Regions from separate parts of the Homo sapiens genome. Here all the other regions are linked to region 1. The links are contacts of gene promoters, found by promoter capture Hi-C in blood cells and fetal thymus (Javierre and others, 2016). All regions are on one chromosome and are shown on one strand. The core of a region is centred on a gene start or on the middle of the fragment in contact, and the rest is flanking DNA. Distances in the headings are between cores, read along the strand shown.

Region 1 (4,175 bases), core at 18-2,517:
ATGACCTGTATCTTGTGCTGAGCTATCTCATCCTGTGACTAAGAATGCCTTAACTTACTGGGAATGCAGCCCAGGTCTTAGCCTTATTTACCTAGCCCCTATTCAAGACGGAGTTGCTCTGGTATAAATACCTCTGACATTCTCACTTATAAGTGGGAGCTAAACATTGAGCAAACATGGACCTAAACATGGAAACAACACACACTCCAGGCTACTAACTAGAGTGGGGAGGGCGGGTGGTGTGGGTTGAAAAACTATTAGGTGCAATATACCCATGTAGCAAACCTGCAACCTACCTGGGTGCAATATATCCACGTAACAAACCTGTACCTGTACCCCCATTTGTAAAATAAAAGTTGATTTTTTTTAAAGGCTTACAACGCTCCCTATGACCTGGCCCCTGCCTAACTCTTCAGTCTCATCTGTTACTCTCCCTCCAATTGTGTTTCAGCCAAACTCAACTATTCTGTTTCTCCATCAAGCTTTTGCATATATTGTTCCTTCTGCCTCTTCACGCCTCTTGACTCAGTTAAGATGCACTTTTACCCTGTTAGCTTTCAACTCGGGTTTACTTCATCCAAGGACTCTCTGACCCTCTTCGCCCCCAAACTTGGTAACGTTCTTCTGTGTGCTCCCAGAGCACACACCCTGCCATATCAGAGTTGCCTGTTTTGCTCTGTGCATTCCCCACCAGACTGCAGGCTCATTGAAATCATAGGCCACATTTTGTTCATCCACATATCGTAACCACCCTCACAGTGGCCTGGCACGCAATAGACACTCAATACTCTTTCTTGAACGAATAGAAGATAGGAGATTTAAGCACCTGGAAGAGAAATTTTGAGCAGCAGAGACACTGGGAGGCAGCCATTTCAGACGAGGTGAAAAAAGGTTCAAAACCTTCTGCGTCAGGAGCATGCGAGACACAGTCCAACCTCTTCCTTGGCCTCAGCCCCGCCCCGTTTCTTTCACCCAGAACTCGCCTCACCCCCCTGCGCTAGTGACTGCTTGTGACCTCATGCAGGTGTGATGAAGTCGCTCAAGGCCATGCTTGGGCTAAAGACACTTTGATCTTCCCGAGGGGGTGAAAGGGCGAGGTGACAGGAAAGTGCGCGTCTTGCTTTTGCACTCATAGTTATCATCCACCGGGGAGTCGGTACACCGGCTCGTCTAGACAACCAGGCGCCATGGGTGCGTCATCAACTAGTGACGGGAGAAGACGGGGCGGAGAGAGATCCGTGAAGGAAGTGACGTAAAACGAGCGCCACAGAGAACGCGAGCCGGGAGTCCGTGGAGGCCATGGCCCCTCGGCGCCTCCTGTTGGTTGGGGAGGGGAATTTCTCCTTCGCCGCCGCTCTGAGCGAAACCCTGGATCAGAGCACTCAACTTACCGCCACCTGCCTCCAGCGCCCGGCCGAGTTGGCTCGGGATCCACTGGCCTGGGAGAATCTGCAGTGCCTGCGCGAGCGAGGTAGCGAGCCCGCCCCTCTGCGAAACCCCGCCCAGCGGCCGGCGCGTCCCAAAGTGGAAAGGGTGGGGGCGTGGGGATGTAACCCACGTGGAGATTGTTCTTGATCGTCCCACGGATATTCACATAAAGCCGGCTTTGTGCCCAGACTTGGGCTGGTCTGCACGGTTTAAGTTAGGAAGAGTTTTTCTGTTCCATGTCTTGAGGCATCCTCCTGTCTATATTTTGCGCCCCCAAACTATCTTTGCCAGGTATCGATGTACGTTTCGGTGTGGACTGCACCCAGCTGGCAGATGTCTTTGAACTGCACGAGAGAGAATTTGATCAAATTTATTTCATCTTCCCGCATTGTGGACGCAAAGCTGGCGTAGCTAAGAACAGGGAACTGCTTGCCAAATTTTTCCAAAGGTGAGGAAAGGAGCGCCCTCACAAGGAAAATGTTTAAGATGTCCATAACATAGTTACTGTACCCAAACATAAGGCACACGTGCAAGCTACTATGATATGTTTAGAAGAGACTATAAAGCCCCAAAGGAACCCCAAGTTTAGTTGGAAAGACAGATATATAAACCCTAAATGCTAAATGAAAGTACAAATAATGTACTCTTGGGTGTGTAAAAGAGGATCATTTATTTTTGACAGTGCAAAATAATGAGAGCCATATAGTCTAATGGCTAAGAACGTGCACTTAGAAGCCAGACTGCCTGGATTCAAATCCCAGCCCACCACTTAACAGTTGTTATTTTTTTATTTTTATTTATTTTTATTTTTTGAGACAGAGTCTCGCCCTGTCGCCCAGGCTGGAGTGCAGTGGTGTGGTGCAATCTCGGCTCACTGCAAGCTCCGCCTACTGGGTTCACGCCATTCTCCTGCCTCAGCCTCCCAAGTAGCTGGGAGTACAGGCGCCCGCCACCACGCCCAGCTAATTTTTTGTATTTTTAGTAGAGATGGGGTTTCACCGTGTTAGCCAGGATGGTGTCGATCTCCTGACCTTGTGATCCGCCTGCCTTGGCCTCCTAAAGTGCTGGGATTACAGGCATGAGCCACCACGCCCGGCCAACAGTTGTTATTTTAAGCAAGCTTACTTAATCTTTACATGCTTCCGTTTCCTCAACTGTAAACTAGGGATATTAATAGTAACTAACTGGGCCAGGCGTGGTGGCTCATGCCTGTAATCCCAGCAGTTTGGGAGGCCGAGGTGAGCAGATCACCTGAGGTCAGGAGTTTGAGACCAGCCTGGCCAAAGTGGCAAAACCCCGCCTCTACTAAAAATATAAAAATTAGCTGGCCGTGCTGGCACGTGCCTGTAGTCCCAGGTACTTGGGAGGCTGAGGCAGGAGAATCGCTTGAACTTGGGAGGTGGAGGTTGCAGTGAGCTGAGATCGTGCCACTGCACTCCAGCCTGGGCGACAGAGCAAGACTCCATCTCAAAAAAAAAAAAAAAAAAAAAAGTAACTAACAGCCTCATAAAATTATTGTGAACTGAAAACAGTGCTTTACATGATTATACCACAAGACATGATACTATTGGAGGTGTCCGATGGGGCATAGCTGTCAATAAAGTTTTGACAGAGGTGGTATTTTAAACTAGTATTTGAATTTCAGGAGGGCAGTGAAAAGAACTTTCTAAATGGGAAGAAACAGCCTAAGCAATGAATCATATATAGGAACTGTGCAGATATTGATCTTTCTGTGACATATGCATGAATGACACAAATGCAAAGCAGACCCTGGTCAGCCAATCTTATCAGTGAGTGGGTTGAACATTTAATTTATGCTTCTATTTACTTCCAGCTACTTTCTTTGCATTTTTTGAGGTCTAATAGATTTTTGCACATAGGTATGATTGGATTTTAATTATTTCACAGGCAAACCATGTGTATGTTGCCAACTCCTGTGGTAATTTCTGCTTGTTTATGATAATTAGTTAGTGTTTCTTTTCTCCCTATTAGCTGTGCAGACGTTCTTGCAGAGGAAGGAGAAGTCCACGTGGCATTATGTAGAGGACAAGGTGGAACTCCTGCGGATAAGCCCCAGAGAGAATGGCACAACAGTTGGCAAGTGGTTGCCATGGCAGCCCTGGGGGGGCTCATTTTAAGCGACGTGTATCCATTCAGCTGTAAGGCTGTGGCAGGGTACAAGTGCACTGGATATAGGTAGGTAATAGCATAGGTTTAAGCCTTCTGCGTTTTCATCTCTCTCACTAATGATAACAAAATCTCATAGACAGACTCAATAGGCCCTGCCAATTAATTGATTCGGTCTCTAAAAATACTTGCTTATTTTAATAATGACAGACTTCATATTGGTGTCTATTTTGCCAGGAGTCAAGATAAGTCCTTTCATGTAGAAGGTGCTTTGAACCATATCTTCACCAGGAGCTTACCTTTTGAAGGTTCTCAACCCAGAATCTTCAGGATCAAACTGGGTAACCAGTGGTTTTCCTTTCCAGAACCAGAAGCACTTGTAGGAAAGTTGAACAGGTAACCAGTTATTTTGCTGGAAATCACTTCCATCTCCAGTTGTATCCTGATTGTCTTGATGGCAACCATATATTGAATGGATGGTGCATAAATTGTTAGTGATGTTGGTGCTATGTTTATTTGTCAGCCTGGCCTCCTTAAGCATCTCTAGAATTATAAATGGTCACATTTTCTGATATATTGTAGGGATGGTGGCTGTCAGAGTTCTGAAATACACGTCTGTT
Region 2 (4,093 bases), core at 1,056-3,555, 180 kb before region 1:
TTTCTCTAAAAATTAAACATAATTTTACCCTATGACTCAGGTATTCCACTCCTAGGAATCTACTGAAGAGAAATAAAAATATATGTCCACACAAATAACTGTATGTAAATACTCATAGTAGCATCATTCATAATAGCAAAAAACTGGAAAACATGTTAACTGGTGAATGATAAAGAGGTATATTGATACGATTAAACACTATACAGCAATAAAAAAGAATAAACTACAGATACATGCTACAACATGGATGAGTCTCAAAAACATTTCGTTAAGTGAAAGAAAGTAGATGCAAAAGACCACATATTTTATGACTCCATTTCTATAAAAGGTCTAGAAAATACAAATCTATAGACTCAAGCACTATAACAAATTGCCCAGGGGCTGAAGGTGAAAATAAGAATTTACTATAAATGAGCATGAGTGATCTTTTGGGGGTGATGAAAATTTCTAAAATTAGATTGTGGTAAAGACTGCGTAATTCTGCACCTTTAACAAAAATCAAGAAATTGTACACTTAGAGCAGGTACATTTTATGATACGTAAAATGGCAAATTAAATGTTAAAAAGTGTCTACATGCGGCCAGGCACGGTGGCTCATGCTGTAATCCCAGCACTTTGGGAGGCCGAGGCAGGCAGATCACAAAGTCAAGAGATTGAGACCATTCTGGCCAACATGGTGAAATCCCATCTCTACTAAAAATACAAAAATTAGCTGGGTGTGGTGGCATGTGCCTGTAGTCCCAGCTACTCGGGAGGCTGAGGCAGGAGAATCGCTTGAACCCGGGAGGCGGAGGTTGCAATGAGCGGAGATAGCACCATTGCACTCCAGCCTGGCAAAAGAGCGAGACTCCACCTCAAAAAAAAAAAAAAAAAAAAAAAAAAAAAAAAAAAAAAGTGTCTATATGCTGGCACAGAGGAGAATTAAAGGAATATTAAAAAAAAAATTCCTGCCTCTTATCTAGATTTTAAGTATCCTGTATTTATATTTAAGGAATATAAATTCCTTGAATGTTTGCTGCTGTGACGATCATCACGGTGGCCATAGCACGGAAAAGGAATGCATCTAAAAGCAAGGAACAGGAAAGCCCAAACAGCATCCTAGAAGGAGAGAACTGAAAGGTATGTTCAGTAACAGTGGCTAACTCAGAATGGCACAAGAAGAGGGGTTTAGAGAGGAGCAATAGTTGAATATAGGCCTTGGCCGGGCGCGGTGGCTCACGCCTGTAATCCCAGCACTTTGGGAGGCCAAGGCAGGCAGATCACAATGTCAGGAGATCGAGACCATCCTGGCTAACATGGTGAAACCCCATCTCTACTAAAAATACAAAAAAATTAGCCGGGCGTGGTGGTGCACACCTGTAGTCCCAGCTACTCGGGAGGCTGAGGCAGGAGAACGGCATGAACCCACGAGGCGGAGGTTGCAGTGAGCCGAGATTGCGCCACTGCACTCCAGCCTGGGCGACAGAGCAGGACTCCATCTCAAAAAAAAAAAAAAAAAAAAAAAAAATAGGCCTTGACTGAATTACGGAAGACTGTCAATGCCTTAAGCAAGCCATTTCTGCCAGGCTCCAGAAAACTCTCCACGAGTCAGTAGTATGAATAATGCTGAAAACAGGAAGACTAAAGTCTGTTTAGTGGGATGAATGGTGGCCCTCCAAAAGATAAGTCTTTGTCCTAATCCCTGGAACCTATCAATGTGACCTTATTTGGAAAAAGGTCTCTGAAGGTATAATTAGGATCCTGAGATAAGATCATCCTATATTATCTGAGTGGCCCTAAATCCAATACCAACTGTCCTCTTAAGAGAAGAGAAAATACAGACACAGAGGAGAAGGCCATGTAAAGATGGAAGAAGAGACTGGAGTTATGCAATCACAAACCACTAAATGCCTAAAGCCACCAGAACTGGAAAAGGCAAGGAAGGATTCTTCTCTATAGTCTTTGGAGGGAACGCATTGCCCCTGCTGAAACCCTGATTTCAGACTTGTTTCCCGAACTGTGAGAGAATAAATTTGTTTTAATCCATCAACTTTGTGGTCATTAATAATGGCAGCCCTGGAAAACTATACAGTTTATAAAGAATATTAGATGTCCAGATGTTCTCCAAATGAAGAATGACCAAGGAAAAGTTAGAACAAAGAGTTTACCCAATAGGTTTGATCAGATTGAGAAATGGTTTAATGGTTTCTGAATCTCCTCTCCTCGCTTGTGGAGTTTCAGAAAGAATTCACATATACGTAGAAAACTAGCCTTCCCTAAAGCAATTATTAAAATCAATTAGGTTAGCATTCATGGTATCATACATGTCTTAGTCATACACAATCACTGTCACAGGCATTCAAATATTAACACTGGACACACACACATACTCTAAAAAAATTAACCAAATATAGATTTATATTTATTTATTATTATTATTATTTGAAATGCAGTCTTGCTCTGTTGCTCAGGCTGGAGTGCAGTGGCGCGTGCAATCCCAGCTCACTGCAACCTCCGCCTCCCAGGTTCAAGCAATTCTCCTGCCTCAGCCTCCTGATTAGCTGGGACTACAGGCGCGCACCACCATACCTAGCTATTTTTTTTTTTTTGTATTTTTAGCAGAGACAGGGTTTCACCATGTTGGCCAGGCTGATCTCGAACGCTTGACCTCAGGCGATCCACCTGCCTTGGCCTCCCAAAGTGCTGGGATTACAGGTGTGAGCCACCATACCTGGCCCCAAATATAGATTTAATCCAAATTTGTGCTACAATCAATTTGGGAAGATGGTGTTATGTGTGTGTATGTAGGAAGGGCATAACAAACCTACCTTTTTTTTTCTCTCTAGTCCCAAGACTGGAGCTAAAGCTAAATATTAATGTTCTTTAACGGGGAGTCAGTCAATAAAGTAAAATAAATGAAAAACTCATAAAAGGCAACAGAAAAATGTTATTTGGAAATCTGCAGGTAAATAAATACCAGAAGAAACAATAGTTTAAAAGCTGTGTTTAAGGGCTGGGCGTGGTAGCTCACACCTGTGATCCCAGCACTTTGGGAGGCCAAGGTGGGCGGCTCACAAGGTCAAGAGTTCAAGACCAGTCTGGCCAATATGGTGAAACCCCATATCTACTAAAACTACAAAAAAATTACCTGGGAGTGGTGGCGCATGCCTGTAATCCCAGCTACTCAGGAGGCTGAGGTAGGAAAATTGCTTGAACTCGGGAGGCGGAGGTTGCAGTGAGCCAAGATCACGCCACTGCACTCTAGCCTAGGCGACAGAAAGAGACTCTGTCACAAAAACAAAACACAAAAAACAAAAAAAAACAAACAGTTGTGTTTGCCTCCTGGGAACTGACCTCAGATTAAGGGTTAGAACAAGTCACTCTAAGCCATGGAGCAGTATTCTAACCTAAATTTAATATTTATTAGGAAAATATTTTTTTGAGACAGAGTTTTGCTCTTATCACCCAGGCTGGACTGCAATGGCACAATCTCAGTTCACTGCAACCTCCACCTCCTGGGTTCAAGCAATTCTCCTGCCTCAGCTTCCCAAGTAGCTGAGATTACAGGCATGCACCACCACGCTCAGCTAATTTTTGTATTTTTAGTAGAGATGGGGTTTCACCATGTTGGCCAGGCTGGTCTCGAACTCCTGACCTCAAGTGATCCACCTGCCTCGGCCTCTCAAAGTGCTGAGATTACAGGTGTGAGCCCGGCCCTAAAATATTAATAAATATTAGTAAGTGTGGTATAATATATACTTGGTCTTTGTCCCCATGTTGCCAGTTCCTGTCATAGAGCCCCTAGAACCGGAATTTCCTGAGTGATAGGAGTATGTTTTGTTATTTATAATGAGCCCTTATATAATAAGCTCCATGACGGATACTTAGGGTGGGATCCCTAAGTAACCTCGGGATGGCGCCAGTCACTGGAAGGGTCAAAATGACTAGAGGATTAGAGAGTTGGAACTTTTAGCTCTACCCACTGACCTAAGGGAAAGGGGAGGGAGATGTAGGCTGGAGATCCTGGAGATCAAACTCTACAAAGACTTTTTTCTTCCTTTCCTTTTTCTCCCCAGCCCCCTCTATTAAGACCCTTCAACAAGATTTAATGAGC
Region 3 (3,648 bases), core at 903-3,402, 220 kb before region 1:
GGAAAAGAAACTAATGACTTACTAAAGATACTCCAACACCCAAAGCAAATTTCAGTCATTAAGAATAAAGTGCATGCTAAAGGTCATGCTTTAAAGCCTGCTACCTTGGCCGGGCACGGTGGCTCACACCTATAATCCCAGCACTTTAGGAAGCTGAGGCGGGTGGATCACGAGGTCAGGAGATCGAGACCATCCTGGCCAACATAGTGAAACCCCGTCTCTACTAAAACACAAAAAATTAGCAGGGCATGGTAGTGGGTGCCTGTAATCCCAGCTACTCAAGAGGCTGAGGCAGGGGAATTGCTTGAACCCAGGAGGCAGAGATTGCAGTGAGCCAAGATCGTGCCACTGCACTCCAGCCTGGTGACAAAGCAAGACTCCGTCTCAAAAAAAAAAAAAAAAAGGCCGCCACCTTATACAAACAGCCCTTTCTAGCTTTACCAGCGTTGGTATTATAACAATAGTTGTTCAATCTGATTTCTGTATATAAGAGGGATTAAAATACAACACTCTGCCCTCATTGGGGGTAGAAGGGTGGATAAGAGGAAGGACATTGGTTTTGTCAAGACTGTTTCATACTGCTTGGTTTCTCCCAAACTACCTCCAGCTCAATAATTTTCATGCTGCAAAAATAATAATATAATAATAGCTCAATTGACAGGGACAAACTGGCTCAAACTTTATAAAGTACTAGTCAAAAAAGTCTTACCTAAGAGGCTTACTCATTTTATTTATCATATCAATGCATTAATTTATTAATCATATCAATGTATTGTTCATTTTAATTATAATAATCCAGAACAAATATACAAAGAAACACCAACATTAAAGACCATTTGAGGCTGGGTGCAGTGGCTCACGCCTGTAATCCTTTGGGAGGCCAAGGCAGGCGGATCACTTGAGGCAAGGAGTTCAAGACCAGCCTGGCCTACATGGTGAAACCCTGTCTCTAATAAAAATACAAAAATTAGCCAGGCGTGGTGGCGGGTGCCTGTAATCCCAGCTACTCGGGAGGCTGAGGCAGGAGAATCTCTTGAACCCAGAGGCAGAGGTTCCAGTGAGCTGAGATTGCACCACTGCACTCCAGCCTGGGTGAAAGAGCAAGACTCCATCTCAAAAAAAAAAAAAAAAACTTTTTAATAATAGTTTATAACATTTCTGGTAGACTACAGCTTTCCCTTATTATTTTTTTTTTGGTTTTTTTGTTGTTGTTGTTGTTTTTTGAGACAGAGTCTTGCTCTGTAGCCCAGGCTGGAGTGCAGTGGCACATCTCGGCTTACTGCAACCTCCACCTCCCATGTTCAAGCAATTCTCCTGCCTCAGTCTCTCGAGTAGCTGGGACTATAGGCTCATGCCACCATACCCGGCTAATTTTTGTATTTTTAGTAGAGACAGGATTTCACCATATTGGCCAGGCTGGTCTCGAACTCCTGACCTCATAATACGCCCGCCTCAGCCTCCCAAAGTGATGGGATTACAGGTATGAGCCACCGCGCCCAGCCTCCCTTAGTTTTACGTTTTTAAGTTTTATACATAGGCCTGATGATATTGCAATTTACTTCTTAAAATCTTCATAAGCTTTCATATTAAACTATTATAGAAACACTCTATGAGGCTGGGCTTGACACATCCCGTAACAGATTTCATCCTTGGTATGTAGTAATCTTGTATTTTTTCAAAAATGAATCTCATATACATAGTCTTATGCCCAATTTACAAACTCTGTTTCTCAAAAGAATACCAATAGATACATTGTGTCTCCCATCATCACCAGCATAATCTACAACTGAAAGACTAGTTTTTTATTTATATTTATATTATATTATATTATTATTTATTGAGACTGAGTCTCACTCTGTTGCCCAGGCTGGAGTGCAGTGACATGATTTTGGCGTACTGCAGCCTCCGCCTCCCGGGTTCAAGCAATTCTCCTGCTTCAGCCTCTTGAGTAGCTGGGACTACAGGCATAAGCCACCATGGCAGGCTAATATTTGTATTTTTAGTAGAGACGGGGTTTCACCATGTTGGCCAGGCTGGTCTCAAACTCCTGACCTCAGGTGATCCACCTGCCTCAGCCTCCCAAAGTGCTGGGATTACAGGCGTGAGTCACTGTGCCAGGCCCTATATTTATATGTTTGAGACAGGGTCTCACTCTGTCACCCAAGCTGGAGTGCAGTGGCGCAATCTCAGCTCACTGCAACCTCCACTTCCTGGGTTCAAGCAATTCTCCCGCGTCAATCTCCCAAGTAGCTAGGACTATACAGGCGCATGCCACCACACCCGGCTAATTTTTGTATATTTTGGTAGAGACAGGGTTTCACCATGTTGGCCAGGCTGGTCTCGAATTCCTGACCTCAGGCGATCCGCCTGCCTCGGCCTCCCAAAGTGCTGGGATTACAGGCATGAGCCACTGCACCTGGCCTGGAAGACTAGTTTAGAAACAGTCACTGATGAAAGTTAGAGTTAGAACCACATTGGAAATGACCATTTGGGTATTTTAATCTCATAGACACCGTTCTGAAGCTCCAGGCCCATAGTCATGGATACATGCTTCACAGTGGTGCTTAGGTCTCAGAAACTGAACATTCAGCCCCACTGGGAATTGACCCTGACACTCATTATCAGGTGTCCAGAGGAGAAAACTCTCCTAAGTAGACATCTACTTTTTAAGATTCTATGAATTGAGACGATAACATCAAGTATATACCACTCTCTCCAAAAGCTTTCTGATCCCTGAGCAGAAAGCTGACTTATATTTAGACTTATATCTCATCTTATGTTTATAATGTGTATCTGAAAATTCCAGGGTCTGAATTCTTTGTGGGTATGGTTCTGTTTATTTGTGCTGACTCTTGCTCAGGACATTCCAGTACTGTGATTTTTGCTGACAGTTCACGTTCACTGGAACTTTATGGGGATTTTTGAAGCTTGTGTTGGGGTAACCCTTCTCTCTCTGGTGAGGATTTGTGCTGACTACCATGCCCTACAAACCTAGGTCAAAGTTAAATTTGCCCCATGTAACCTTTTTAGATATGCAGGTAACTTGAACTCGGACTCCAAACTGGCATGAGGACTGGCTCTTAGCCACACATTCTCAGAAGAGACTCTTTCCTCCAACCTGAGCCAAGGCAAGATACACACATTGCTCTGCTCTCTGCTTTTTCAGATAAATATCAGTTTTTCTTTTGGGGGGGATGGAGTTTCACTCTTGTTGCCCAGGGTGGAGTGTAATGGTGTGATCTCAGCTCACCGCAACCTCTGCCTCCCGGGTTCAAGCAATTCTCCTGCCTCAGCCTCCCGAGTAGCTGGGATTACAGGCACCCACCACCACGCCCGGCCCTTTTTTTTTTTTTTTTTTTTGTATTTTTAGTAGAGACAGGGTTTCTCTCTGTTGGTCAGGATGGTCTCGAACTCCCAACCTCAGATGATCCACCCGCCTCGGCCTCCCAGAGTGCTGGGATTACAGGTGTGAGCAAATATCATTTTTTCTAATTCACCCTTTCTCTGAGGGCAAAACTCTTTATGGTTCTTGGTTTAGGGGAATCTTCATTCTAACTCCCTGGTTTGAGCCCTAAGCTTTTCTCCTGGCCTATGTGCCACCTTCTTAAAACTAGAATCCGGCCAGACATGGTGGCGCAAGCATATAAT

What was found. Contacts are between HindIII fragments. The CHiCAGO score rates a contact against its expected background, and 5 or more counts as called.
Region 2: a fragment that was not itself captured here is called in contact with the fragment with the promoter of FDXACB1 in region 1 in 3 of 17 cell types (erythroblasts, naive B cells and total B cells); the score reaches 6.5 in erythroblasts.
Region 3: a contact is called between a fragment that was not itself captured here and the fragment with the promoter of FDXACB1 in region 1, in 2 of 17 cell types (erythroblasts and naive CD8 T cells). The highest score is 5.6, in erythroblasts.

Annotation. Positions count from the first base shown.
Region 1 is chr11:111,876,257-111,880,431 of GRCh38, reverse strand. FDXACB1 (ferredoxin-fold anticodon binding domain containing 1) reads left to right here and starts at 1,267. Exons shown (of 5, transcript NM_138378.3): 1 at 1,267-1,471; 2 at 1,720-1,876; 3 at 3,421-3,624; 4 at 3,793-3,951. The coding sequence starts at 1,300. CFAP68 (cilia and flagella associated protein 68) reads right to left here and starts at 891. Exons shown (of 4, transcript NM_022761.3): 1 at 827-891. The coding sequence starts at 871. RefSeq lists enhancers at 1,014-1,483, 980-1,599. The HindIII fragment of the contact is 2,066 bases long and covers 485-2,550 here.
Region 2 is chr11:112,052,650-112,056,742 of GRCh38, reverse strand. The region is part of intron 11 of DLAT (dihydrolipoamide S-acetyltransferase); the gene reads right to left. It also overlaps a transcript of PIH1D2 not described here. Among named protein-coding and RNA genes, the nearest start is that of PIH1D2, 19 kb to the left of the region's middle. The HindIII fragment of the contact is 6,314 bases long and covers 1-4,093 here.
Region 3 is chr11:112,099,981-112,103,628 of GRCh38, reverse strand. No RefSeq gene overlaps it. Among named protein-coding and RNA genes, the nearest start is that of SDHD, 15 kb to the right of the region's middle. The HindIII fragment of the contact is 1,144 bases long and covers 1,581-2,724 here.